4 separate regions of the Homo sapiens genome follow, and regions 2, 3 and 4 are each linked to region 1. Evidence: promoter capture Hi-C in human tissues and cell types (Jung and others, 2019). All regions are on one chromosome and are shown on one strand. Each heading gives the region's core, a stretch centred on a gene start or on the middle of the fragment in contact. The rest is flanking DNA. Distances are from core to core; before and after follow the strand shown.

What was found. The method cuts DNA at HindIII sites, captures the fragments that hold promoters and counts their contacts. A contact is called where the count stands out against the background at its distance.
Region 2: a contact is called between a fragment that was not itself captured here and the fragment with the promoter of IL6R in region 1, in 1 of the 25 tissues and cell types used here (dorsolateral prefrontal cortex).
Region 3: a fragment that was not itself captured here is called in contact with the fragment with the promoter of IL6R in region 1 in 4 of the 25 tissues and cell types used here (H1 embryonic stem cells, bladder, mesenchymal stem cells and 1 more).
Region 4: a contact is called between a fragment that was not itself captured here and the fragment with the promoter of IL6R in region 1, in 2 of the 25 tissues and cell types used here (heart right ventricle and sigmoid colon).

Annotation. Positions count from the first base shown.
Region 1 is chr1:154,403,042-154,409,684 of GRCh38, reverse strand. IL6R (interleukin 6 receptor) reads right to left here and starts at 4,342. Exons shown (of 10, transcript NM_000565.4): 1 at 3,971-4,342. The coding sequence starts at 4,055. IL6R-AS1 (IL6R antisense RNA 1) reads left to right here and starts at 3,121. Exons shown (of 2, transcript NR_147855.1): 1 at 3,121-3,246; 2 at 5,728-6,643. RefSeq lists an enhancer at 3,212-3,818 and silencers at 4,058-4,207, 4,408-4,537. The HindIII fragment of the contact is 9,903 bases long and covers 1-6,643 here.
Region 2 is chr1:154,852,185-154,858,827 of GRCh38, reverse strand. The region is part of intron 1 of KCNN3 (potassium calcium-activated channel subfamily N member 3); the gene reads left to right. Among named protein-coding and RNA genes, the nearest start is that of KCNN3, 15 kb to the left of the region's middle. RefSeq lists an enhancer at 1,740-1,899. The HindIII fragment of the contact is 5,294 bases long and covers 393-5,686 here.
Region 3 is chr1:154,823,286-154,829,928 of GRCh38, reverse strand. All of the region lies in intron 1 of KCNN3 (potassium calcium-activated channel subfamily N member 3), which reads left to right. Among named protein-coding and RNA genes, the nearest start is that of KCNN3, 44 kb to the left of the region's middle. The HindIII fragment of the contact is 4,353 bases long and covers 951-5,303 here.
Region 4 is chr1:154,022,445-154,029,087 of GRCh38, reverse strand. It overlaps NUP210L (nucleoporin 210 like), which reads left to right. Exons shown (of 40, transcript NM_207308.3): 29 at 1,491-1,582; 30 at 3,372-3,546; 31 at 5,791-5,966. Among named protein-coding and RNA genes, the nearest start is that of RPS27, 35 kb to the right of the region's middle. The HindIII fragment of the contact is 5,326 bases long and covers 410-5,735 here.

The DNA.
Region 1 (6,643 bases), core at 3,093-5,592:
ACAGAGTAGGAGGTGTTCACTCCAAAAATATATTTTTGGAGTGAATGAATGATCACCTACACTTATTTAAGCACTTGCTGTGTGTTAGGGACTTCTGTAAACACTCTATTTAATACCTTACTTAGCTCATCTCATCTTCATAACCACCCTTCGAGGTAATACAATTATTTCTATTTTCTAGAACACTGGCTGTCAAAGAAGTTAAATCACTTGCCCAAGGTGTTATCATTTTTACTTGGCAGTGCAGGGCAGAGATGTGCCTGGCTTGAAGACCTTAGCCATCACCTATGCAAAATGAGCTGTGTTCAGGTGGAGGAGAGCAGAAGGCAGAGGGGGATAAAGGAAAAGAGAACAGAAAACCTCTGGAAGAAACTGGTTAACACTCTAGCCCAGCACCGTCCAGTAGGGCTTTCCACGATGATGGAAGAGATCTGTATCTGCACTGTTCAGTACAGTAGCCACTAGCAATGTGAGTGTTGAGCACTTAAAATGTGACTAGTGCAACTAAGAAACTAAGTTTTTATTTGATTTCATTTAAATTAATTTTTTGGAGACAGGGTCTCCTGTCGCCCAGACTGGAATTCGGTAGTGCAAACATGGCTCCATGCAGACTGGACTCAAGTGATTCTCCCACCTCAGCCTTCTCAGTAGCAGGGACTACAGGCTCATGTCACTGTGCCCAGCTAATTTTTTAAATCTTTTTGTAGAGACGGCATCTCACCCTGTTGCCCAGGCTGGTCTCCAACTCCTGAGCTCAAGAGATCCTCCTGCCTCAGCCTCCCAAAGTACTGGGATTACAGGCGTGAGTCACTGCGCTGGCATAATTTAAATTTAAATAGGTACACGTGGCTAGTGGCTACCGTATTACAGAGCACAGCTTCAATCCAGACTAGATTCATTGACTGGAAACTCTTTTGCTTGCTGGGTCTGTGGCTTCCAGGCCTGGTGGGACCAGGATTCAGGAGACGGGGGAAGGGAGTGTATATTTTCAGCAGTCAGCACCTAGGTTACTTTGTGTAATCTACAAATACCCAGTGAGGGGAGTATTTGTTTACCCTGGCTGCTGAGGGCTGGAGATGAGGGTCAGGGTCAGGATCAGTGTGCCTGCTGCCTTGGGATCTTGGTCCTCAGTCAGAGGAACTTCCTCTCTCTAACCACCCCCTACCCCAAGCCAGACAATCTGTTCACGGGTAGTTGGTACCCAGTGGCCCGGTCAGAGTCTGGGGTTTCTCAGCCCTTCTCAGGATTTACCCATGACCATTTTCAGGCTCCTTTTAGGGTGGAGTCTGCATAGCTGATCCTACACAGGCCTCACAGGCTCTACACCGACTCAAGAAATGTTTGCTGCAATGAATAAACAAGCAGCAAGCCAAAGCAAGGAGAGATTTCTGGCAACAGAGAGCCCGAAGCGGGAGGGCCTTCATTCAGTTCCTCAATGACACCATTTAGGCAGCCGTCCTCAAACCTGACAGTGCCTAAGAATCACAAGGGGCAGTTTGTTTAAAAGGACATGCCCCAGGCCTCACTCCTAGGTGTTCTTATTTAATAAATCTGGGTTAGGGTTCAAAAATCATCATGTTTACCAAAGCCCTCCCACCCAGCACACACACCAGATCTGATGCTAGGCTCAGAACTAAGCTTTTGAGAAATACTGATTTAGGGTGAGGCTAGGCACGTGTGTGGGTAATGGGGGCAGGAAGAGGTGCCCTAGAAGGAAATTCAGAAGCTGAGATAGCTCTTTGAGATACTTAAAGGTATACATACTTCTTTTGTGTATTTTCTTGCATTGCAGTAGGAAGAGGGAACTTGAGTCACCCAAGTCCAGCCTTCCAGCACCAGAGTGTTGGAACCGGCAGAAGCCTAAGTCCCAGCTAGTCCAGGCCCTTAGACAACGAGTACACCTGAGAAGTCCTGGCAGCTCCAGGGTGTGTGGGCGGCAGCTGATCCCGAGGAAAACAAACCTCTGGGCTCTAAGAGCCCCGCAGGCTGTACCTGCGGATTTCCCCTCTCAGCCAACTCCAGCCTCTGCTCCCCCTCTGCTCCTCACTTCTCTAAAGCGAAACATCTCACAGTCATTTGCTCCATGCTTCCTGTACGATTTCTTTATTTTTACTCTCCAGTTTGTGGGCTGAGTCTGTGTGGGTGTGGGAGAGGGGCTGGGTATTTCTACTTCTCTGCATTTTCCTTCTGAGCTGGGAGGACTTTCACTTCCTCCCCAGTCTCTCAGTTCTGCCTTTCATGGGCTGTTCAGGCCATGAGACCACCTCTCCTAATCCTTCCTGAGCACCAGGGAAATGGAAAACTGACTGTAACTGGCTGCCCTGGAAGGGCCTAGCATCCACTCAGGAGCAACAGGTGGTGGCAACTACAGCAGTAACAGTAACCTCCCTGGGGCAGGAGCCTTGGGCTGGCGTGACAGCAGCAGAGGCAGCCAAGGGAGCCCTGCTTGCTCCTGAGGCCATCCGAGCCCTGGAACCTGTCTTGCATCCCTCTAACACCACCATGGGCAAGCCTGGGCCTCCACTTCCCTCCCTCAGCCTTTTCTGTCCCAGCACTCAGCCAGACAAGAGTGACTCTCAGCTTGCCCCAATGCCCCCAGCTCTGCCTGCTGATCTAGTTCTATATTTGAGAGTCTTAGACATCTACCACACTGGAGCACAGAGCCACGGGAGGGGTTGGCCTCCATCACCGGGGCCTGACAACCTGCCATCCCGCCATCCCAACCTCCCTGAACCTCAGTCTCCTCTTTCAAACAAAGTTATATGTAGATACAGTGGAGGATTAGAAAACATTGAATGGGTGCCCCAATCAACAGTGTCTGTTACTGGCAGGAGTTATAAATGTGTATTGAAAATGGAATCCCTTCTTTTTTTCTTCCAATCATAAGGACCACAACCATCCAAAAAGCAAAGAGAGCCTCAGACACTCCAGCTCAGCCTCTAGTTGCAGAAAGTCACCTCCTCAAAGGGAGAGATCAGTGTTCACCTAGGACTGGAATTCAGTGTGATCTAGTGGTTGAAAGTCTTAGCCTTCAGCCTCCCCAGCCTGTCAGCTGTTCCAGAAGCCTGTCAGCTGCCCCTTAGTTTTCTGCTGTGTCCTCAAAGAAGCACTGGGACCCTAAAATAAACCTCTGGAGAGCCAGTTGCCCAACTCTTCCAGAAGAGAGACTAGACACGCAGCTGGGCATGCGGCCAGAGCCCAAGAAAAGCCTGGTTTGCCAGGGGCAGATTACAGTCAACGGGAGCAGTAAGTGCCTCTGCCCTCTCCCTCACGGGTCCTTCTCTTTTCTAGAGGGGAGTCCAGCACGTGCCAGCCCCAGGAGGTCTCACTCCCTTGCCAGCCTCCCGACTCAATTCCCAGGACTGGGGCACTTGGCTTCCCAGAGTTGGTGGCTGCCAAAGTGACTCCGTGCAGCGGGAAGATCCGTGACTCAGCGCCCGTGATGTCAGTCCCTTCATAGTCAGGGCACTGTCATCCACACATGCACCCGCGGGGGTGGGGGGAGGACCAGGCGAGGTGGACCCCCAATGCAGAGGGAGAAGAGGGGCGCTGGTACAAAGGACTCCCCAGGCGGGTACATCACCCCGCTGGGGCGCGCCCTCTCGGGCAGTCTCCCCTTAGAGTAACCTGGGACGCGGTTGTGTAAAGGCTCCTGGGGGCACTGGGAAGGAAGCTCGAGAGTCAGGTTTGCAAGGACACAGTCCTGTACACAGACCGCAGGGTTCCCGCACAGCTTCACCGGGCATTCCGGGGAGCGCTCCGGACCAAGGGAGCAAGCGCAGCAGGGGGCGCAAGAGCCACTACCCGCGACCACACAGCTAGGTACCCGCGGGGCCTCAAGGCAGCCACAGAAAAGGGGATCCGTCGCACCTCCTTTCCTCCCTCCAGCCTCCCACAGACTGCGGTGACCAAGGCGGTTTCCCCCAGCCGCTAGCTGCCCCAGCCCTCCAGGTGCGCCCGAAGCCCTTACCCTGCGCAGGGCAGCGCCTTGGGGCCAGCGCCGCTCCCGGCGCGGCCAGCAGGGCAGCCAGCAGCGCGCAGCCGACGGCCAGCATGCTTCCTCCTCGGCTACCACTCCATGGTCCCGCAGAGGCGGACAGGCTAATGGGAACCGGGCGGCAGGGGTGGCAGGGGCGGGGCGGGGCGGTGGGCGGGCAGGCGGGCTCAGGCCCCGGGGGCAGCCCCCATCCGCAGGAGCCCGGCTCTCTACACACACTGCGAGTCCCTCGGCCCCGCGCCGCGCTCGGCTCCTCTCCCTCTGGCCCGGCTCAGTGTCAGTGCGACTTCCCACTCGCACATGACTCAGAGCGGCGGACGGTCCTGGCAACGCAGGAAAACATTTGAGGAACTCGCGCTGGAGCGTCTCTGGGCCGTCCCAGGGTGCGGTTACGAAAGCCGGAGCGGATGGCGCAACAGCCCCGCGCACCGGCCGACCGAGGGGGTGGCTTCCTGCCACAGCGCCGCACCTGAGCGGGGAGAACAGGGGACCGCCAGCCCCACCAGAGCCCTTCCTCCCGGTTCTGTTGATGAGAAAAGGGCGTATCAGCCACCAGTGGGCAGTGGCCTAGTTTTGATTTTTGGTTTCGTGAACGGGATTACGCTGTGAAAGGCACACCTGGAGAGCCCTCGAGGAGGCGATGTTCCTCTTACCCTTAGGGTAAAACAGTGCTTGGTAGCCCGGTTGCCCACTGGAATCAGCCAGGAGCCCTAAAACCCACCAATGTCTGGGTCGGGTCTCCAGAGATTCTGATTTCATCGGTCTGGGGTGAGGCTTGGGCATCGGAAGACTCACCACCGTAAAGGCACAGTCTTTCTGCCCAGCTGCTCCTCGCAGGCTGCAGCAGAGGCAAGGAAACGGTTTGGACTTTGCAGTCAGATAGACCTGGGTCCCCATTTAGACCTACCATCTACTGTGTCTGTGACTTCGGTTCAGAATCTGAGTCTCCATTTCCTCATCTGTCAGAGATAAGAAAGCCTATGCTGCCCAGGGTTATTAGGAAGGTTCTGTGGATGGCACCTAAACACCTGACACACGGTCTGGGCCACACGTGCTCAGTAGACATCAGAACGTTCATGGCTGCCCTCCTGACTTGACAGACAGACACTAACACCAGGGGCAGTGGCTCACGCCTGTAACCCCAACACTTTGGGAGAGCCGGGTGGGTGGATTGCTTCAGTCCAGGAATTCTAGACCAGCCTGTGTAACAAAGTGAGACCCCCATTTCTATAAAAAAATTTAAAAATTAGCTGGGTGTGGTGGTACACACCTATAGTCCCAGCTACTAGGGAAGCTGAGGTGGGAAAATTGCTTGAGTCCGGGAGATCCAGGGTACAGTGAGCCGTGATTGGGGGCTGCTACTCCAGCCTGGATGACAGTGAGACCCTGTCTGGAAAGAAAAAAAAAAAAAGAAAAGAAAGAAAGAAAAGGAAGGGAGGAGGGAGGGAGGGAGGGAAGGAGGGATAGAGGGGAAGGAAGGAAAGGAAGGAGAGAAAAAAAGAAAGAAACAAGCACCTGGCTTTTGAGCAACCACAAGGACCTTGAAGGGGACCATCTGTCCGTCCCTTGGAGGGGAACTCTCTCAAGGACCCCCACAGAGCCTAAAGCTGATAGGATGGCCTCATAGCTGAATCTGGAGGGAAAGAAAAATGCTGAAATAAAGTTTAGGCTGAGAAGCTTCTAGACCAGCAACTGCTCATTAGAATGTGTTTTTCTACCTTTGGTTTCAGGCCAATCCTAACCCAGATCAAAGATCCTGGGACAGCTGGAACAGGCATGGCCTAATGGAACTCCCAAGTGGACAGGGCCAGGCATGGACGGACAGAGCTTCTGAAACAGTCCTCAGACCCCGTGCATCTGGATCTTTCTGTAGGAACCACCCATCAGCAGTGCCAGACAGAACCAAGCACATGCACTGATCCACCGCACGATGGGAGCTGGTGTGGGTGAGCTTGTTTGCTTTAGCCATGCCCACAGACAGGAACAGAAGAGCACAGTGGAGGCCACCAGCCCTCTCGCCTGCTATTTCAAAAGGGGTTGCAGCAGGGCTGGAAAGCGGTTCCCACTGTGGTTGCCCCCTTCCTCTCTGTGGCACACACAGACCTGAAAATAACCAGAGAGGGACTGTGAGCTGCCAGCCTAAAACAGGAAGGCTGCAGAAAGTCCTAGGCTCAGATAGGAGAGTTTAAAAGAATGTTGAAACCAAGAACGGGCATCACAGATCCCACCTGTCTCTGCACCAAAGCAGACCTCCCCCTCTCTAATCTACTGGTGGGGAGCCTGTGTGCTCTGTAGTCATGCAGATCCCAGCTTTACCACTTGCTGGCTGTGTGACTTAAGCAAGCTATTTAACTTCTCTGAACCCCTATTTCCTGATTTGTAAGATAAGCGCAGCAATATACAAAGTTTTAGTGTTGTGGTTCACATGAAAAAATTTAATCCTGGCCAGGCCGGACGTGGTGCCTCACACCTGTAATTCCAGCACTTTGGGAGGCCAAGGTGGGCAGATCATGAGGTCAGGAGTTCGAGACCAGCCTGACCAACATGGTAAAACCACATCTCTACTAAAAATACAAAAATTAGCCGGGCATGGTGGTGCGTACCGGTAGTCCCAGCTACTCAGGAGGCTGAGGCAGGAGAATCACT
Region 2 (6,643 bases), core at 1,790-4,289, 450 kb before region 1:
AGGCTGAGGCGGGAGGATCGGTTGAGTCCAGGACCTCAAGACCAGCCTGGGCAACATAGTGACACCTTGTCTCAAAAAAAAAAAAAAAAAAGTTACATGACTTGTCCGAGGCTACTCAGCATTGTTAGTGGCAGGGGCATAGCTGGAATCCTGGAATTCCTGGTTTTAGTTCTTCCTCTCTTTTTGTTTCTCCCATCCCTCTTCTGGAAACATATCCTGAACACCCACTGTGTGGCAAGCCCTGCTCCAGGCGGCAGGAGTGCAGAGAATCTGTGCCTTACAGACTCCAGGGGGGTCTCTCCCCAGCCAGATGTGTTGTTCTCCACCAACTCTTCCTAAGAGAGCACAGGCTTTCCCCATAGACCTGGATTCAAATCCTGGCTATTTGGCTGTGTGGCCTTGCGCAGCGGCCCCTTTATTTGGGAGGTGGTATTTTAATTCCTCTTGTGGGTGGAGAGGTGAAGAATTCAACGTGGGCCAGAGCTGTCACCCAGGGGGCTCTTGTCCATGCTGGGCAATGGTGGGTTTTACCTTGGTTGTTTCTTCTGAGAGCTCAGTGGCCTTGGGATCATGCAAGGTCCCTCACAGCTGGGCCCATGGTTCCCAGCCCCTCCTGCTCTGGGCTGGACCTGGTGTTAAGCTCTGCCAAGATGCTTTCCCCTGCTCTGGGAGAGTAATGGTGCTGAGCCTGGTGGGAGGGCATTTTGGCAGAAGACACCTGACGGGGTGCACACTATGTGCCAGCGATGGAAAGATCCCTTAAGAGTGAAATGAAATTGATGCAAGCTGAGAGCAAGTCTAGGATGGAGTTGAGTCATGAGGGTTTCCTGGTGGGTGGACGGGATCATATAGAAAGAAAGCCTGTGTCCACAGCAGCTTGGGGGAAGGCACCGCTCTCATTACATGGGAACTTATTTTTCCTTCCGTAAGAATGACTCCAAAGCAACACCGGGTCTTATTCAGGAGTGAAGAGGTGACAGGCGGTGGAGAAGAGAATATTTATTAAGGGCCTACTATGTGTGTTTACACACCTCATCTCATTAAGTCCTCACAACAACCCTGTGAGGTAGATATAATTCTCCCCATTTTACAGATGACAGACCCAAGGCTCCGAGAGTTTAAGTGACTTGCTCAGGGTCTCACAGCTGGGAGGTGGTGGAGTTTGGATTTGCACACAGGGGAGTGTCTCCGACGCCCTCACATTGTGCAGCAGACATGCTTTTGCATATCAGATCCTAGACTGGGCTCTTTCAAGCCAAAAAGCTTCTCCTGCCCTGCCTGAGCTCTCCACTCCCGCCCACCCCACCCCTTACTGTGCCACCCTCAGTCCCCTGCCAGCCTCCCCCAGAGCCTCAGGGGATGTTTTGTGCTCATGGAGTGGGGTAAGGGTAGAGGGAGGAGGGGAGGAGGATGCTGGCAGTTTAGATACAGGGGTTTGCTGAAGCTCCAGGTGCCGTGCTGGGCTCTGGGGCTGAGGAAAGTCTCCTGTGGGCCCTGGAGGGGCCACCCGAGCCCTCAACAGCATGCGTCCTAGTGTTCTTGCCGCAGCTCTGTGGCTTCTCGGCTGTGCAGCCTTGTTGAGAAAACTGACCTCTTTGAGCCTCAGTCTCCAGGTCTGTGAATGGGGTTAACAGTGTTTTCTCTCTCTCATGAGAATGGGTGTCATGAGGAATAAATGAGACAAGGGCACTGCCTGGCGTGTTCTGGTTGGTTCTGGGGGTTCAGCACCAAATAGACATGGAGCTCACAGGCTGGTGGGGGAGGCAGGCACTGAACAAGTAACAACAGGTCTGATGTGAGCTTTGCGAGAGACAAGGGCACACACATGTGGCTTGGGTTTGACCCACAAGCCTGAGACTTGGTGTCCCACGCCTCCGTCTGCTCCCCTTCCCCCCATTTCCTGAAGGTCCATCTCACCCTCACTTCTTCCATCCTCCCTCATATCTGTCTCCCAGGCCATCCTCTGATTCTTCTATATGGGCTATCTAGCCTGGTGTTAGGAGAACAGGCTTTAGTGCCAAGCAGATATTGGGTACAGCGCTGGCTGTGTCACTTACTGTAGGCTGTGTGGCTTTGGGAAGCTGTCTCAGTGCTTTGATTCACAGTTTCCATGGGGGTGAATCCTAACCTGGCCGCTGGGGCTGTCATGAGAGTTAATGAGATATTGCTGTTTGTAAGGCAGAGGACATGGTTTCTGGCACACATGGAGCGCTCTGTGAAGGCCAGCTGAGTTGCAGGTGAGGAGAAGCATCCTAGGCTAGGTGTGGGGCAGCTTAGTTTCTGGTCCTCTGTTTTGTCATCTAGAGAGTGAGAGAAGGAGCCTGAGGAGGGGATGTTTCCTGCACTGGCCATCTGCGGGAAGGTCGTGAGCACCAGATGGAATTTCGGAGAGAACTGGAAGAAAGCTACGCTATTCCAGCTGGCGGGGGTCCTCATCGATGGTGCATGTTGGCAGGGTGGGCTGCGGGGGGCGTTATCTTCCTATCCCACAAGCGAAAGCCTGTGAAGACATCGTGGCTAAGGGGATTTTCTCACTCTCAGGAGACAGCTGAGAGACAGGCCCTTCTGGCCAGCCTCCCTCCCTGCTGCCTCCTCCCTGCAGGCCAGCCCTTGGCACGAGTCCTGCTTGTCTCCTGAACCCTCCTAGCAGCAGGGATTTAATTACTATAATGTAAGTAGCTGTGGCTTGAGGCCTTCTGGTGGAGGGGAAACAGATTTGTCTTCTCACTGGGAGAATAAAAGTCTATGGAAAGGAAAAGAAATGTACTTTTCCCCGAGGTACCTGAGGCTGTTGGGCTCAGGGGAGCTTCCCTCAGGGCGGGGAGAGGGAGCATGGGTGGCAGCGGGAGGAGGCACCACGTCTGACTCAAGGACCCTTGGCGCTTGCTTTTGCTCTCTGTGGGATCACTCAGCTAAGCTGCCTCAGTTTCCCCAATGACCCTGCTAACAGATCAGCCTGACATTCAGTAGGCATCTGTCAAGCACCTACCATATGCTAGACACTTAGAAACTTCCAGCTGAGTAGCCAGCCCAGGCGGAAAAATAATTTCATTCATTTGACAAAGTTATTGAATGCCTGTTATGTGCCAGTGTATTGTTCTAGGCATCACAGATATACAGTCATGCGTTGCAACGACGGGGACGCAGTCTAAGAAATGTGTCATTAGGCAATTTCATCATTGTGTGAGCATCATGCAGTGCACTTACACAGACTAGGTGGCATGGCCTTCTGCACACGAGGCTGTATGGTGTAGCCTACTGCTCCCAGGCCTGTATTGAATACTGTAGGCAATCATAACACAATGGCAAGTATGTATCTAAACATAGAAAAGGTACAGTAGAAATACTGTACAATGGATACAAAATACTACACCTGTATAGGGCACTTACCATGAATGGAGCTTGCAGGACTGGAGGTTGCTGTGGGTGAGTCAGTGAGTGAGTGGAGAGTGAATGTGAGGGCCTAGGACATGACTGTAGACTAGTGTAGGCTTTGTAAACACTGTTCACTTAGGCTAACTACATTTATTTAAAATATTTTTTTCTTCAATAACAAGTTAACCTTACCTTACTATAATTTTATTTATTTATTTATTTATTTATTTATTTTGAGACAGAGTCTCACTCTGTAGCCCAGGCTGGAGTGCAGTGGCACGATCTCGGCTCACTGCAACTTCAACCTCCCAGGTTCAAAGAATTCTCCTGCCTCAGCCTCCTGAGTACCTGGGATTATAGGCACGTGCCATCACACCCGGCTAATTTTTGTATTTTTAGTAGAGACAAAGTTTCTCCATGTAGGCTAGGCTAGTCTCAAACTCCTGACCTCAAGTGATCCACCCGCCTTGGCCTCTCAAAGTGCTGGGATGACAGGCATGAGCCACTGCGCTTGGCCAAATTTTTCACTTTATAAGCTTTTTATACTCTTTTGTAATAACACAAACACATTATACAATTGCACGAAAGTATTTTCTTTATATTCTTACTCTATAAGTTTTTTTCCATTTTAGAAATATTTATTTAAAAAGATGCATTTTTACTTACAAAATCTTTTTTGGTTAAAAACTGAGACACAAACACACGTTAGCCTGGGCTGACACAGGTTCAGGATCATCAAGATGTCACGAAGTGATAGGAATTTTTCAGCTCCATTATAATTGTACAGGACCTTGACTGAAATGTCATTATGGGACACATGACTGTAGTAGAAAAAACCCACAAAAGAGAAAAATCTTTGCTGTCACGAATTTACATTTTAATAGATAAGCCTGATAGTAAACTATCTAAGTTAATTATATATTATGTTCGATGGTGATAAGTGCTATGATGAGTGTTATGAAGAGCCTCTTCCCTCCAAGATACAACTTCTTACTCCATTGACAAGTCTTAGATCCCAATCTGTTAAGGCCCCAACTAATTTTACAGCCAGAGTTAGATAACAGGAAAAAGACATCTCTTTTCCTTTCATCATTGTCATCATCAATAACAATCACAATTGTTAGGACCACTCTGGATGGGAGTGCAGGGGCTTCTGAGAGGAGAGTGGTCATATTATTTTATTTATTTTCAAATTAATTTATTATTATTATTATTTTTGAGATGGAGTCTTGCTCTGTCGCCCAGGCTGGAGTTCAGTGGCCCAATCTCGGCTCACTGCAAGCTCCGCCTCCCGGGTTCACGCTATCCTCCTGCCTCAGCCTCCCGAGTAGCTGGGACCACAGGTGCCTGCCACAACACCTGGCTAATTTTTTGTATTTTTAGTAGAGACGGGGTTTCACCATATTAGCCAGGATGGTCTTGATCTCCTGACCTCATGATCTGCCTGCCTTGGCCTCCCGAGATGCTGGGATTATAGGCATAAGCCACCGCGCCCAGCTTTTTTTTTGTGAGACGGAGTCTCACTCTGTCACCCAGACTGGAGTGCAGTGGCGTGATCTCGGCTCACTGCAACTTCCGCCTCCCAGATTCAAGTGATTCTCCTGCCTCAGCCTCCTGAGTAGCTGGGATTGCAGGCACATACCACCATGCCCAGTTAATTTTTGTATTTTTAGTAGATACTGGGTTTCATCATGTTGGTCAGGCTGGTCTTGAACCCCTGACCTCAAGTGATCTGCCTGCCTTGCCCTCCCAAAGTGCTGGGATTACAGGCATGAGCCACCATGCCCGGCTGAGAGTGGTCATTTTAAATAAATGCTCAGAGCTAGGTGCAGTGGCTAATGCCTGTAATTCTAGCACTTTGAGAGGCCGAGGCAGGAGGATCGCTTGAGCTCAGGAGTTTGAGACCAGCCTAGGCCATATAGTGAGACGCCTTCTAAACAAAACAAAAAATTAGCTGGGCATGGTGGTGCGTGCCTGTGGTCCCAGCTACTTGGGAGTCTGAGGTGGGAGGATCGCTTGAGCCCAGGAGGTCAAAGCTGTAGTGAGCTGTGATCGTGCCACTGCACTCCAGCCTGGGGAATAGAGTGAGACCTGGTCTCAAACAAAAACAAAAACAAAAACAGAAAACAAAAACCACAAATAAAACAAATAAAGAAGTGCTTAGGGCCAGGCATGGTAGCTCACGCCTATTATCCTGGCACTTTGGGAGGCCAAGGCAAGAGGCTTGCTTGAAGCCAGGAGTTTGAGACCAGCCAGGACAGCATGGCAAGACTCTCATCTTTACAGAAAAAAAAAAAAAGCTGAGTACATTGGTGTGCACCTGTAGTCCTAGCTACTTGGGTGGCTGGGGTGGGAAGATCCCGTAAGCCCAGGAATTCGAGGATGCAGTGAGCTGTGATTACGCCACTGTGCTCCAGCCTGGGTGACATGTGAAACCCTGTCTCTAAAAATAAACACATAAATAAATAAATTAAATAAGTGCTCAGGGAAGGCCTTACCAAAAAGGTGATGTCTATTGGAGGATCTGAAGTGGTGAGGGATCCAGCCACCTGGGGGAAGAGGAATAGCAAGGTGAAGGCCCTGAGGGGGGATCATGCCTGGTGTGTTGTAGACAGCACTGTCCGGTGGACACGAAATGGGAGCTACCGCTGTCATTTTAAATTCCTGAGTAGCCATATTAAAAATAGTGAAAAGAGAAAAGTAGAATTATACATGTTAATAATATTTTTAATTTAACCCAACATAGCCAGAATATTATTATTTGAATGTGCAAGCAATACAAAAAATTATTGAGATCTTTTACACTTTATTTTTTGTACTAAGTCTTTGAAATCTGGTGTGTCTCTGACACAGCATATCTCAATCAGACATTAAGTTTTCATTGGAGATACTTGATCTGTATTTAGAGTTTATAAAATTTACAATTAAAAGAACAGACTTGCTGGGCATGGTGGCTGACACCTGTAATCCCAGCACTTTGGGAGGCAGAGGCAGGTGGATTGCTTAAGGCCAGGAGTTCGAGTCCAGCCTGGGTAATGTAACACAGTGAGACTCTATCTCTCTAAAAAAAAAAAAAAAAAAAATTAGCTGGGTGTGTGGCATATGCCTGTGGTTCTAGCTACTTGGGAGGTTGAGGTGGGGGATAGCTTGCTGTTGAGGCTGTGGTGAGCCATGCGTGTGCCTCTGCACTCCAGCCTGGGCAGCAGAGCAAGACCCTGACTCCCCGTCCGAGAAAAAAAAAAGAATAGATTCACACACTCAAGTTGTT
Region 3 (6,643 bases), core at 1,878-4,377, 420 kb before region 1:
GAAAATGGGGTCAGATGGTGAAAGGTGCTCTGGTCACCCCAGCTGGGCAGTGCCAATGGGAGACACCAGGCATGGCCAGCCTCGGGAAGGGTGTGGGGCCCAGGGCAGACCAGCGGGGTTCCTGGTGCTGAGGTTACCCTGTGTACTATTAAAGCAGGTAATGGCTCCCAGCTTCGATGGTGGGTATATGGACCCCGTTCAGGGATGGGGGCTGAGGAGGGCACAGGAGGACTGAAGACAGGGCTCTGAGGAGCCACCTGCTCTCGGGTCTAGGTCAGACCCCGCATCCTGATGCGGGTCAGCTGGCTCATGATGCCTGGCTGGCTCCTGGGACTGAGAGGAGAGTGTGGATGGTCTTGTCTCAGCTTTCCGCCCACTGGGGATCCACCTCAAGCATCCCCTGGCTGTGGGGTTGAGGGGTGGGCCCAGAACAGAAGCTTCATGTAAGAAGGTGACTGGGCTGGAGAAAAGGTGGCAGTGAGGTTTAGCCCCATCTCCAGCCCCTGGGACCTGTGGTAAAGATGTCCTCACCCACACAGTGGGCTCAGGCAGGCAGGAAAGGTTCCTGGAGCTTGGCCTCTAATATCCATTCTTGAGCTCTGCCGTGGAGAGAGCTGGTCACTCGAGCGCAAAGGAACCACTTGTGGGTTTTCTCCCTCAGCCTGGGCTTCCTGCCCATTCCTGGCTGTCCCAGCCTGATGTGTCCTCCAGGGCCCCCTGACCTGACCCTTGGCCCATCTCTTCTTGACCTTGCACTGTGGGCAGGACAGAGAGGCCAGGGAGAGTGTCCAAGAGGGACAGGATGGGATGTCAAGGTGACGGGGCGATGATGGTGCAGAGGGCAGCCCTTGGGATGAGCTCCTGGGAGCTCCTGGATGGGATTCAGGCTCAGCAGGTTGGGGTTGGAGCGGGTGGGGAATCCCTGGCATTTGGCAATTGCCCAGCACAGTGCCTGGGCATGGTAAGTGCTCAGTGAATATATGTTGTATGAATGCACAAGTGAATGAATGTTTGGCTATGCGGATTGCAAAGGTGTCTTTCTGAAATGCCTCAGGGATATCTTTATAAATTATTGCAGCCATAAAATGCTGATATTGGGGGTGCAGTGAGCAGCTCCGGACTGAGGATCAGCTGCATTTACCTGCACTGACATCTGTATGGCAAGAGAAGGGGTGTTTGACTACAAGGGAATGCATGCTTCTCTTTGTGTGAAAACAGAATGAGATTTTTCGTATGCATGATCTCATCTCATCCCCTAACAGCTGTGAGAAAAGTAAGGGTAGTTCTTGTTTGCAGAGAAGAAACCAGAGGCCCAGAGAGGTTAAAGGACCGATCCAGTGTCACACAGCTAGTTAGTAGCAAAGACATGACTTGAACTCTGGCCTTTTGGTTTCAAATCCTATGTTATTTAGAAAGAGACAAGGAACATCTTCGTTAGCCCCCCCATGACTAAAAATAGGAAGCTTGCCTTGTTGTGTTTGAGGAGAAGATGGTGTGAGTGGGTTTTGTGGCTGACCGTTTCACACCCAACATTTCATCACAGAAATGCCTGGGAAAAGAAAACTCCTAAGAAAAAAAAAAAAAGGAATGAGTGTTGGACATGTCCCTATGACCTGTTTGTCATGGCATGTGTGCTCGGCGCCTTGGTCATCAGGCTTAACTGAACTTCGGAGAAGGTTCTGTCCAGGAGTCTCATTTTACTGGGGGCTGAGGCTTAGGAGAAGGAAGCAACTTGTCCAGGCCAGGCATTCACTATGGAGGAGGCTGAGACTCCTGCGCCCTCGGATGCACACCCTGGGCCTCTGTTCCAGAGCTGTCTTGGCTAGCAAGTATCAGGCCCTTCTCCCTTCTCAGGCTGGTCAGAGGTCCAGCTGCCCTCTGGAGTCCCCAGAGTCTCCCTTCCCACTGTGACAGCATCGGCTGTCTCTCCCGGTCTCAGGTTGGACAGTCCTGGGAGAGAGAGGGTCTGAGTGACTTCATTCTGTCACTTCATTCATTAGTGACTGAAACAGGATTCTGTTAGCTGACTTCTGGTAGGAGCCAGGTTGGGAAGCCGCTCTGAGGATGCTGGGAGGGCCAACAGCTGCAATTATTATTATTATTGTTGTTGTTATTATTATTATTATTATTGAGACAGAGTCTTGCTCTGTCTCCCAGGCTGGAGTGCAGTGGTGTGATCTCGGTTCACTGCAACTTCTGCCTCCTGGGTTCAAGCCATTCTCCTGCCTCAGCCTCCTGAGAAGCTGAGACTACAGGCTTGCACCACCATGCCCAGCTAATTTTTGTATTTTTAGTAGAGATGGGGTTTCACCATGATGGCCAGGCCGGTCTTGAGCTCCCGACCTCAAGTGATCCACCTGCCTTGGCCTCCCAAAGTGTTGGACTTACAGGCGTGAGCCACCACGCCTGGGCTTGCAATTAAATTAGGGTGCTGCACCTGGGAGGAGGAGGCTGTGCTAAGATAGGAGCTGAGGATGATGGGTAAGAATGAAAGATCCCAAGAACTGGACAGTGTGAGATTGAGGAATGAGGAAGGCCAGGGCTTGGTGCTGATGTGGAGGGAAAGAAGCCTCAGGTCTCCATGGAGAACAGCGACCAGTGATGCGGTCTTCCCTTTAGCGGAAGAGGGGCTGGTTTAATTTGCATAGCATTAATTAGCAAGAGTATCTAATTAGGACAACCATTACAGAACCACAGTCATAAGCCGATGTTGAATATCAATCAATTTTGGAGCCTCTCCATGAAATTGAAGGAAAAGTTGACCTTATTAGATAGAAAAGATTTCTAAATCAATTATTTCCCAGATTGAATGCACAAAACATAGTGATGTCAGGCAGGCACATCAGACCTTAATTCAGAAATTATGAACTTCAGATACTATCACCTTTTCCCTTTGGGGGTTTCAGCCAGTGACAGAAATCGTGAATGGACCACATATGTGTATAAACACACACACACACAACCATACACATATACTCTTTGTGGGTAACAGCTTGGTTGGGGAAGGAGCCTGCGCATCATTATCTCAGTTAAGCTAATATTTCAGTTTGGTTCAGTGCCCCTCCAGGTCTCTGTCTGTAAGCATAGCTTTCTCCTTTTTGCGATGACCCAAACAATAAAATACATTTAGAACTTCAAAGTCTCTGGGAAGATATACCATAATCATTACAGTTCTGGCCTGTTTTTGGAAGCTACAAGGCAGGCCAGGAGAGCAATTTATGTGGCTGGCTCAGAAGCTGGGGAACACACTCCATCACCCTCTGCACAGCCTCAGGGGAGGAAAGGCTGGAACAGCTCTAAGAAGCCTCGCTGCAGATATTGGAGGGCCAGCAAGGCGTGGCCGCCAGAGCAGGTGGGGTGCTGGGACACAGGCGGGGCAATGGAACCTGGAGGCAGACAGATCTGGGTGTAAAACCTGGCTTTTGCAAATCCTGGCTTTGCCATGGTGAGAAGTTAGGTAACATGCCCTTGGACAAGTTACCTAACTTCTGAGAGCTTAAGCTTTCTCCTCTGTAAGAGTGGGTTGACAATGCCATCCTTGCATGGTAGGCCCCTATAGATGTGCTTTATTACAGATTATTGTCATCAATGAGAAATCACAGATCTGTGAAGGGCTGGCTCGTGGCCTGGAGCAGAACAGGGACCACATGGATGGAGGCAGCTCTTAGGAATTCTATTGACATATTTTCAGTCTTTTTCTACACTAAAAAAGCTTAAAAATGAAATAATTGGAAATATACTACATATCGTTTTGGGGTCTGAGTTTATCACTTAATAGTCTATCATCAACCATTCTCCATGTCTTCAGATATTGTCTGCAGAAGTGTTTTTTGGTTTTTTTTGTTTTTGTTTTTGTTTTTGTTTTTGTTTTTGTTTTTTTTTAAGATGGAGTCTCGCTCTTCACCCAGGCTGGAGTGCAGTGGCACTGTCTCGGCTCACTGCAAGCTCCGCCTCCCGGGTTCATGCCGTTCTCCTGCCTCAGTCTCCCGAGTAGCTGGGACTACAGGCGCCTGCCACCACGTCCCGCTAATTTTTTGTGTTTTTAGTAGAGATGAGGTTTCACTGTGTTAGCCAGGATGGTCTCGATCTCCTGACCTCGTGATCTGCCCACCTCGGCCTCCCAAAGTGCTGGGATTACGGCCGTGTGCAGAAGTGTTTTTAGTGGCTGCGTAGTGTTCCATCACTGCCTGATCTCAAATCTACTTAACCACTTGAAAATTTGTGGGCATTTAGGAATAAATGACTTTAAAACATGACTCTCAGCTGGGCGCGGTGGCTCACGCCTGTAATCCCAGCACTTTGGGAGGCCGAGGCGGGTGGATCACTTGAGGCCAGGAGATCGAGACCATCCTGGCTAACACGGTGAAACCCCATCTCTACTAAAAATACAAAAAAATTAGCCGGGTGTAGTGGCGGGCGCCTGTAGTCCCAGCTGCTGGGGAGACTGAGGCAGGAGAATGGCATGAACCCGGCAGGCAGAGCTTGCAGTGAGCTGAGATCGTGCCACTGCACTCCAGTCTGGGAGACAGAGCAAGACTCTGTCTCAAAAAAAAAAAAAAAAAAATGATTCTCATCAAATGGGATATAATTCCTAAGCATTCCTGTGTGTTAAGGATTGTTACTCTGTGTTGAAAAGTTCTGAGTCACGGGGCAGAAGGGTTGACCAGTTGACCGCTGGATTCCCTCTGTTCTACAAGCCCCTTATTGGTCCTCAGATAGGAGTGAGTGGGGGCAATGCGTGTGGCAGGTACCCTATCCTGGGATGTATGGCAGCCCGGTGTCACTGCCATCCCCCAAGGAACCATATCAATTTCAAGCTTCACTGATGTTCAGGCAGCAAAGAGAAGATGCTAATTCAACATTTTACCAAATAGAAAACATTCCTAGTTCAGCCAGACTTCTTTGACATGTTTTCCAGCTATTAAAAGCGGTTGGTTAATTTTTTTTATTGACATGCGATGGAGAATGCAAAGAAATCTGTAAGATATCGAGAGTCCCTGTTGATCCAGCACACAGCTTGGTCATCCCACAGGGCTGGAGCTGGCCAGGGAGGTTGTACTGGCCAAAACCAAGAAGCAGGTGGGAGTTGCCTGTTCATGTAAAGGTTTTGAGCTTTAGGACAAAAGGAAGAGGCCCAAAGGAGAGAGCATCTGGCCCCTTTCCCTTCACTGCTTCCTTTAAAATGATGGAAATAGACTTGGATTCTGATGTCAATTCATTGCTGCCAAAAGAAATAAATAAGGGGCTGAAATGTGCAGCTGATCCCAAATCCTTCCCGGGGAGGTGTGATGCTCCCAGATGCTTTCAGACCCCTTTGAAAAGAAAGTTATGGTCATTTCTGGATGGAAAACATTGTGAGCTGTCCCCAGTTGATCCCCAGTTGATTGATGTAGGGAGGTTTGTTTTACCCTAATACAGTCTGAGTGTTCCTGAATTCACCATTTGCTCTTTTCAGCCCCATCTGGGTCTTGTGGTTGGGTAGCATTTCAGGCACCAGGAAGTGCTTGTGAAGATCAAAATATTTTTGAGGGCCAGCACTGTGTTCTGTCCTTCTCTGTGCTTATGTTGGACCAGAACAGCACCAGCCCTCCTTAGGCCCCCATACATGTGTGCTGAGTAAATGATTGCAGGCTGCTCTTATGGAACTGTGGAACATGAAGAGGCTAAAAGAAGACTGGCTTATGTGTAGATCATCTTATGCATAGCAAATAATGGAGACCTTTTCCCATAGTTGGACGACCCCATGCAATGTAGAAAGTCAGAGTTAGTGAATAAGCCAGATCAGAAGCTTCTGGTGTATATCACTGTATATATAGAATCTAGCACACTGTTGGATATCTAGCAAGTGCTCAGCAAATGAGAAGTGGTTGAAATTTTTGTGAAAGAGTGAATGAATTAGTTACTTTATTAGTTTTCTTTGTATCTCCAGTGGGCCTCAAGAACTGTACCAATTAAATGAATGGGGAGATTAATAGACATCAGGGAGAGCACTTTCATTCCATCTCAGCACACAGAGTGGGGCCGAGAGCATGGACCTGGGCACTTGGAAGTCCTGGGTTCGAGTCCCAAGCCCTCCTCTCATTCTTGTGGTTGCCATATTGGACATACCGCCTCACCCCACAGATCTCAGCTGCTCCTCACATCTGCCTCTGAAAGCTGTCTCTGACCCATCCACAGTGGCCTCCCTCCTTTGAGCTCCCCTAGCTCTACTGTAGGTTTCACTCTGGCAATTGATCATACTCTACCTTACCTTGTTGTCTTAAGATGTCATTTAGGTCTATTTAAATGGATGCTTCCCATGTTTCTAAGTTGTTTCCCATTGGAGAGTGTGCCTGAGGGCTTGTGGGCAGTGCTCTGTACTGCGAGTCAGAGGCCTTGACTTTGAATTCTGGCACAAGCCACCCACCCTCCTCTGGGCCTCAGCCTGTAATATCTATAAGGTAAAAGGCCGAGGGCTGTTGTGAGGATGGATGAGAACAAATACGTGAAACCACCTTGTAAACTGTAAGGTGCCTTCCAGAAATCAGGCATCATTCTTCTAATGACCAGCTCCCTGAGGAAGGGAATGTTTCTTTTGTGGCGTGCACCACTCAGGACCAAGTGCAGGGCCGCCATACACACAGTCACTGCTTGGAAATGCTTC
Region 4 (6,643 bases), core at 1,823-4,322, 380 kb after region 1:
TTTTTGAGACAGAGTCTCACTCTGTCACCCAGGCTGGAGTGCAGTGGCACAATCTCCACTCACTGCAGCGTTCAGGTAATTCTCCCTGCCTCAGCCTCCCGAGTAGCTGGGATTACAGGCGTGCACCACCATGCCCGGCTAATTTTTGTATTTTTAGTAGAGACGGGGTTTCGCCACGTTGTCCAGGCTGGTCTCAAACTCCTAACCTCAAGTGATCCACCCGCCTTGGCCTCCCAAAGTGCTAGGATTACAGACGTGAGCTACCACGCCCGGCTGCTTTTATATACTATTAACATTAGAAACTATTAGTACTTGCAGGTGAGTAGTCTGGAAAAAAAAAGAAAAGAAACTGTAGCACACACACTCCCTTCAACTCCCCATATCAGGAACACAGGATATGAACACCATAGTAACTAGAGAGGGATTCATTTCTGATCCACTCCACCTGACATAGATATTATAAGTCCATTAACAATTTTTATTTAATTATTTATTTATTTTGAGACAGAGTTTCACTCTGTTGCTTAGGCTGGAGTGCAGTAGCATGATCTCGCCTCACTGCAACCTCCACCTCCCAAGTACAAGTGATTCTCCTGCCTCAGCCTCCTGAGTACCTGAGATTACAGGCATGCGCCACCATGCCTGGCTACTTTTTGTATTTTTAGTAGAGATGGAGTTTCGTTATGTTGACCAGGCTGGTCTCAAACTCCTAACCTCAGGTAATCTGCCCGTCTTGGTCTCCCAAAGTGCTGGGATTACAGGTATGAGCCACCGCGTCCAGCCGATATAAGTCCATTTAAATATATTCACAGTTAGGATAAAACATAATTCTAACTTTTGATAAGGTGTAAGAGTATGAATAGTTTCTACAGATATTCTTGGGCTAAAAGCTAAATGGCTCTGTTGTTTTTAGAATTCAAAAAACAAATTATCACTTATATGGGTCGAGTAAGTTTCACTGCCTCTGATTTTGAGACTTTTTTTTTCTTTTCCTGTTTTATTTTTTCCTTTATTTTGGCTTTGGTTCTCTGATTCCATGTGAAGTAGAGGAAGGAGCACTTTACTAGAAGGTGGAAGACCTGGATGTTATTTCATGCTAATTTAATATTATAAGTTCTTTTCCCCAAACTTCATGTCATTTTACCAGAGCCAAAATTAGAAATTTCAAAGTATTTTTATACCTAATATCTAAGCAATATGGAAGATGTGGTAAGTGTAAACTTTGCTACATGCTGAGTCCCTCAGAGTCAGAAACAGGGCTAACATTAGGTTATATCTTCTAGAATATCTAGTTACGTTTTGAGTGCCTGGTTCATTTTGGAGAGGAGTATTGTGGACGATTTTAGACTAATTAGAAGTTAGGCAGACTGTTGATTCGTAGTTGTCATTTATTTGCATGTAATCTCTTCGGGATTATACTGAAGTCTATATGTAAGTAAAAGTCATAATTTGTCTTTGCCAAAAATGAGGAAAACATTTTCTCATTATAGGTGTTTGAAAAACTCCAACTCTTCTATCCAGAGTGCCAACCAGAGCAGATTCTGATGCCTATAAATTCTCAGCTCAAACTCCATACCAACAGGTAAGGAAAAGGGAGAATAAGGAAGTGCCAGGATCTAAGCTTAAGTATTTTCAGTAAAACATTGACATAGAAAGAACACTTTTGCCTTCTAGGAGATTTTTCCCAAATAATTTTTTGTGTGAGGTGAAATTCCCATAATGTAAAACTATTGTAAAGTGTAAAATTCAGTGGCATTTAGTACATTCACAATATTGTGTATTCAGCATCTCTATCTAGTTCCAAATATTTTTATCACCACCAAAGGAGATCCCATACCTGTGAAGCAGTCACTCTTCTTTCTTTCCTCCTCGCAGCCCCTGGCAATCACTAATCTGCTTTCTGTGTACGGTATTAGCTATCCTGAATGTATTTCATATAAATGGAATCATACAGTATGCAACGTTTTGTGTTTTTTGTTTTTTTTTTTTTGTTTTTTTTTTTTTTTTGAGACAGTCTCGCTCTGTTGCCCAGGCCAGCGCACAGTGGCACAATCTCAGCTCACTGCAACCTCCACCTCCCAGGTTCAGGCAATTCTCCTGCCTCAGCCTCCTGAGTAGCTGGGATTACAGGTGCCTGCCACCACACCTGGCTAATTTTTGTATTTTTAGTAGAGATGGGGTTTCACCATGTTGGCCAGGCTGGTCTTGAACTCCTGACCTCAGGCGATCCTCCCGGCTCGGCCTCCCAAAGTGCTGGGATTATAGGTGTGAGCCACCACGCCCAGCCTTGTGTTGGCTTCTTTAAGTTAGCATAATGTTTTTGAGGTTCATCCATGTTGTAGCATGTATCAGTACTTCTTCCTTTTTATGACTGAATAGTATTCCATTATATGGAAATACCACATTTAGTTTATAATTTCATCTCCTAATAGAAATTTGGGGCTGGGCACAGTGGCTCATGCCTGTAATCCCAGGCCTCTGGGAGGCCAATGCAGGTGGATCACCTGAGGTTGGGAGTTCGAGACCAGTCTGATCAACATGGAGAAACCCCAACTCTACTAAAAATACTAAATTAGCCAGGGGTGGTTGCACATGCCTGTAATCCCAGCTACTCAGGAGGCTGAGGCAGGGGAATCACTTGAACCCGGGAGGCGGAGGCTGCAGTGAGCCAAGATCACGCCATTGAACTCCAGCCTGGGCAACAAAAGCGAAACTCCGTCTCAAAAAAGAAAAGAAATTTGGGTTGTTTTCACCTTTTGGCTATTGTGAATAGTGCTGCTATGAATATTCATTTGCAAGTATTTACCTGAATACCTGCTTTCAATTGTTTTGGCTGAATAATTATTTTTTTGAAACGGAGTTTTGCTCTTGTCCCCCAGGCTGCAGTGCAAATGGTGTCATCTCGGCTCACTGCAACCTCAGCCTCCCAGGTTCAAGCCATTCTCCTGCCTCAGCCTCCCGAGAAGCTGGGATTACAGGCACCCGCCATCATGCCCAGCTAAAAATTTTTTTTTTTTTTGTATTTTTAGTAAAGACGGGGTTTCACCATGTTGGCCAAGCTGGTCTTGAACTCCTGACCTCAGGTGATCCTCCCGCCTTGGCCTCCCACAGTGCTGGGATTACAGACATGAGCCACCACACCCGGCCTAAATAATTCTTTAATTATAAATATGTAATAAGATTTGATTTTAAAGAAATAAGCATAATCCAAAGGCAGACTTTTACCTGAGGAACAAATAATTACACACGTGGAGAATGGCAAGCAGTTTTCTCGAGTACATCCCCTAACAGTAATCCTGGAAATTTTTACTCTTTTCTCTCTGGTCAGACAGGACCCCAAAAAGATGCCACTTCCTTTCCTTGTTCCCTAGGGAAGGAGCTGCCTTCGTGAGTTCTCGTGTTCTCAAGTGTTTCCCTAATTCATCCGTCATTGAGGAGGATGGTGAAGGGCTCCTGAAAGCTGGTTCCATTGCAGGTACTGCTGTATTGGAAGTCACTTCTATAGAACCTTTTGGAGTCAACCAAACAACCATAACTGGGGTCCAGGTGAGTTCATGGACTTACTAAAAAAAACAAATAAATAAAAGTCATACCCTGGCCTTAAAAAGCAGAGTTTCTTTTTTAAAAAACTAGAAATTTTCTTATCATGCCATTAAAGAAAAAAAGAAAAAGAAAAGAATTAGAAACTTCTGTATCATGAGAGAACATGAACCAGAAAAAAAAAAAAAAAAAGGAGAAGAAGAAGAAGAAGAAACTCTCTGGGAGTCAGAAATGAACCTATAAGAGGCCAGTCTTGACATGGTTATAAGCCATAAAATTAAAATGAACTTTAGAGCCCTTGTTATAAAACAGATCAGCCTGGCCGGGCACGGTGGCTCACGCCTGTAATCCCAGCACTTTGGGAGGCTGAGGCAGGCGGATCACGAGGTCAGGAGATCGAGACCATCCTGGCTAACACGGTGAAACCCCTTCTCTACTAAAAATACAAAAAATTAGCTGGGCGAGGTGGCGGGCGCCTGTAGTCCCAGCTACTCAGGAGGCTGAGGCAGGAGAATGCCGTGAACCCCGGGGGGCGGAGCCTGCAGTGAGCCAAGATCACGCCACTGCACTCCAACCTGGGCGACAGCAAGACTCCATCTCAAAAAAAAAAAAAAAAAAAAAAAAACAGATCAGCCTAAATTTATATGATTGTCTTCCTAGCAGCTTTGGCAAAAGGACTGGTATCGGAGGAGTGTAGAATGATTGCTATCAAAATTGGCTGGGCTGGGTGACTCACGCCTGTAAGCCCAGCACTTTGGAAGGCTGAGGCAGGAGAATCACTTGAGGCCAAGAGTTTAAGACCAGCCTGAGCAACATAATGAGACCCCTATCTCTACAAAAAATGAAAAAAAAAAAAAAATAGCCGGGCTTGGTGGCACATGTCTGCAGTCCTAGCTGCTTGGGAGGCTGAGGTGGAGGATCACACGAACCTAGGAGTTCGAGGCTGCTTTGTGCTGCAATTGAACTGCTGCACTGCAGCCTGGAAAACAAAGCAACAATCTGTTTCTTTTTAAAAAATTAAGCTTTGCTACAAGAATTAAAAAATTGAGAAAAGACCTCAGAGATAAGTTAGTCTTAACACGAAAAAAAATTTTAGACATTAAACATCTACTATATACTATGTTCGTCATTGTATGTATATTATCTCTTTTAACTACCACAAAAGCCCTATGAGGTAGGCATTATTATCCCCATCTAACTGTTAACTGATAAGAAACCTGAGACCCAGAAAAGTTACATGAGGCTATGAAATGATAAAGCTATGATTCAAACGCGGGCTTCACTTACTGTATCACAGCTCTCTTACAGTGTGAAAACACAATATAGATTGTGTTCCTGATAAGTAATTGATTATTTAACCATAAATATTGAGCACTCTGCATGAAATGGATGAATTATAGTCCTTTCCTCATAAAGCTCCAGCTTCTCTTCACATTCCCACAGCTTTAAAAATTAAAAACCTGGCTGGGCACAGTGGCTCACGCCAATCCCAGCACTTTGGGAGGCCGAGCCGGGTGGATCACGAGGTCAGGAGTTCAAGACCAACCTGGCCAAGATGGTGAAACCCCCATCTCTACTAAAAATACAAAAAAATTAGCCGGGCATTGTGGCGGGCGCCTGTAATCTCAGCTACTCAGGAGGCTGAGGCAGAGAATTGCTTGAACCCAGGAGGCGGAGGTTGCAGTAAGTTGAGATTGCACCACTGCACTCCAGCCTGGGCGAGACAGCAAAATTCCGTCTCAAAAAAAAAAAAATTAAAAACCCATTTCAAGCCGGGCACAGTGGCTCACGCCTATAATTCCAACACTTTGGGAGGCCAAGGCGGGCAGATCACTTGAGGTCAGGAGTTTGAGACCAGCCTGGCCAACATGGTGAAACCCCATCTCTACTAAGAATAGAAAAATTAACCAGGCGTGGTGGCAGATGCCTGTAATCACAGCTACCTGGGAGGCTGAGGTAGGAGAATTGCTTGAATGCAGGAGGCAGAGGTTGCAGTGAGTCAAAATCATGCCGCTGCACTCCAGCCTGGGTGACAGAGTGAGATTCTGTCTCAAAAAAAAAAGAAAAGAATTTCCTATGCTGCTATGCTGTCATATTTCTTTTCACTCTGACTTAAGTCATCTCACATCAAAAGCTATTTCCTATGGAAAAGAAACATCACTCTTTATCATTGATTATAAGTCTCAGAATATGGTTGCAGCACTTCTCCAGTGCATCTTTCTCTGTACCAGTAGGTTTTGTCTCCCACAGGTAGCACCGGTGACATACCTGCGAGTGAGCAGCCAACCCAAGCTATACACAGCCCAAGGAAGGACCCTGTCAGCATTTCCCTTGGGCATGTCTCTTACCTTCACTGTTCAGTTTTATAATAGTATCGGAGAGAAATTCCACACACACAATACCCAGCTTTATCTGGCTCTGAACAGGTATGGAAGTCAAAGGAATGGTATTGACACTATGGTAGAAATCTTGCATATTAGGCTAGTATTATATAGCAGCTCCAGTAAATTCCTCTCACATTCTGAATTTGGAAGTTGATCTTTCTTTTGTTAAAAAAAATTTTTTTAAGTGAGGCCAGGTGGGTGGCTCACACCTGTAACCTCAGCACTTTGGGAGGCTGAGGAGGGAGGATCACTTGGGCCCAGGAGTTCGAGACCAGCCTGGACAACATGGTGAAACCCCATCTCTACAAAAATACAAAAATTAGCTGGGTGTGGTAGCGTGTGCCTGTAGTCCCAGCTACTAGGGAGGCTGAGGTGGGAGGATCACTTGAGCCCAGGAGGCAGAGGTTGCAGTGAGCAGAGATTGCGCCACTGCACCCCAGCCTGGGTGACCAATTAAGACTGTCTTAAAAAAAAAAAAAAAAAAAAAAGACCAGACTTAGGCAATGGTATTAGTTGTCACTTAAGAAAAAATGCAGGATATCTTAAATCTGTCAAGTTCTAATTCACTAAAAGATCCATAGGGAGCTAACTGGAGTATTATTATCAAAAGGCTTTACTGGAAAAAAAAAAAAGCCTTCCTGGGAACTATACGTATGAAGGTAATAGACTGATCCTTGGCCCATACTTACTTACTCTTTATTGTGGAATTCCTTCTGAAC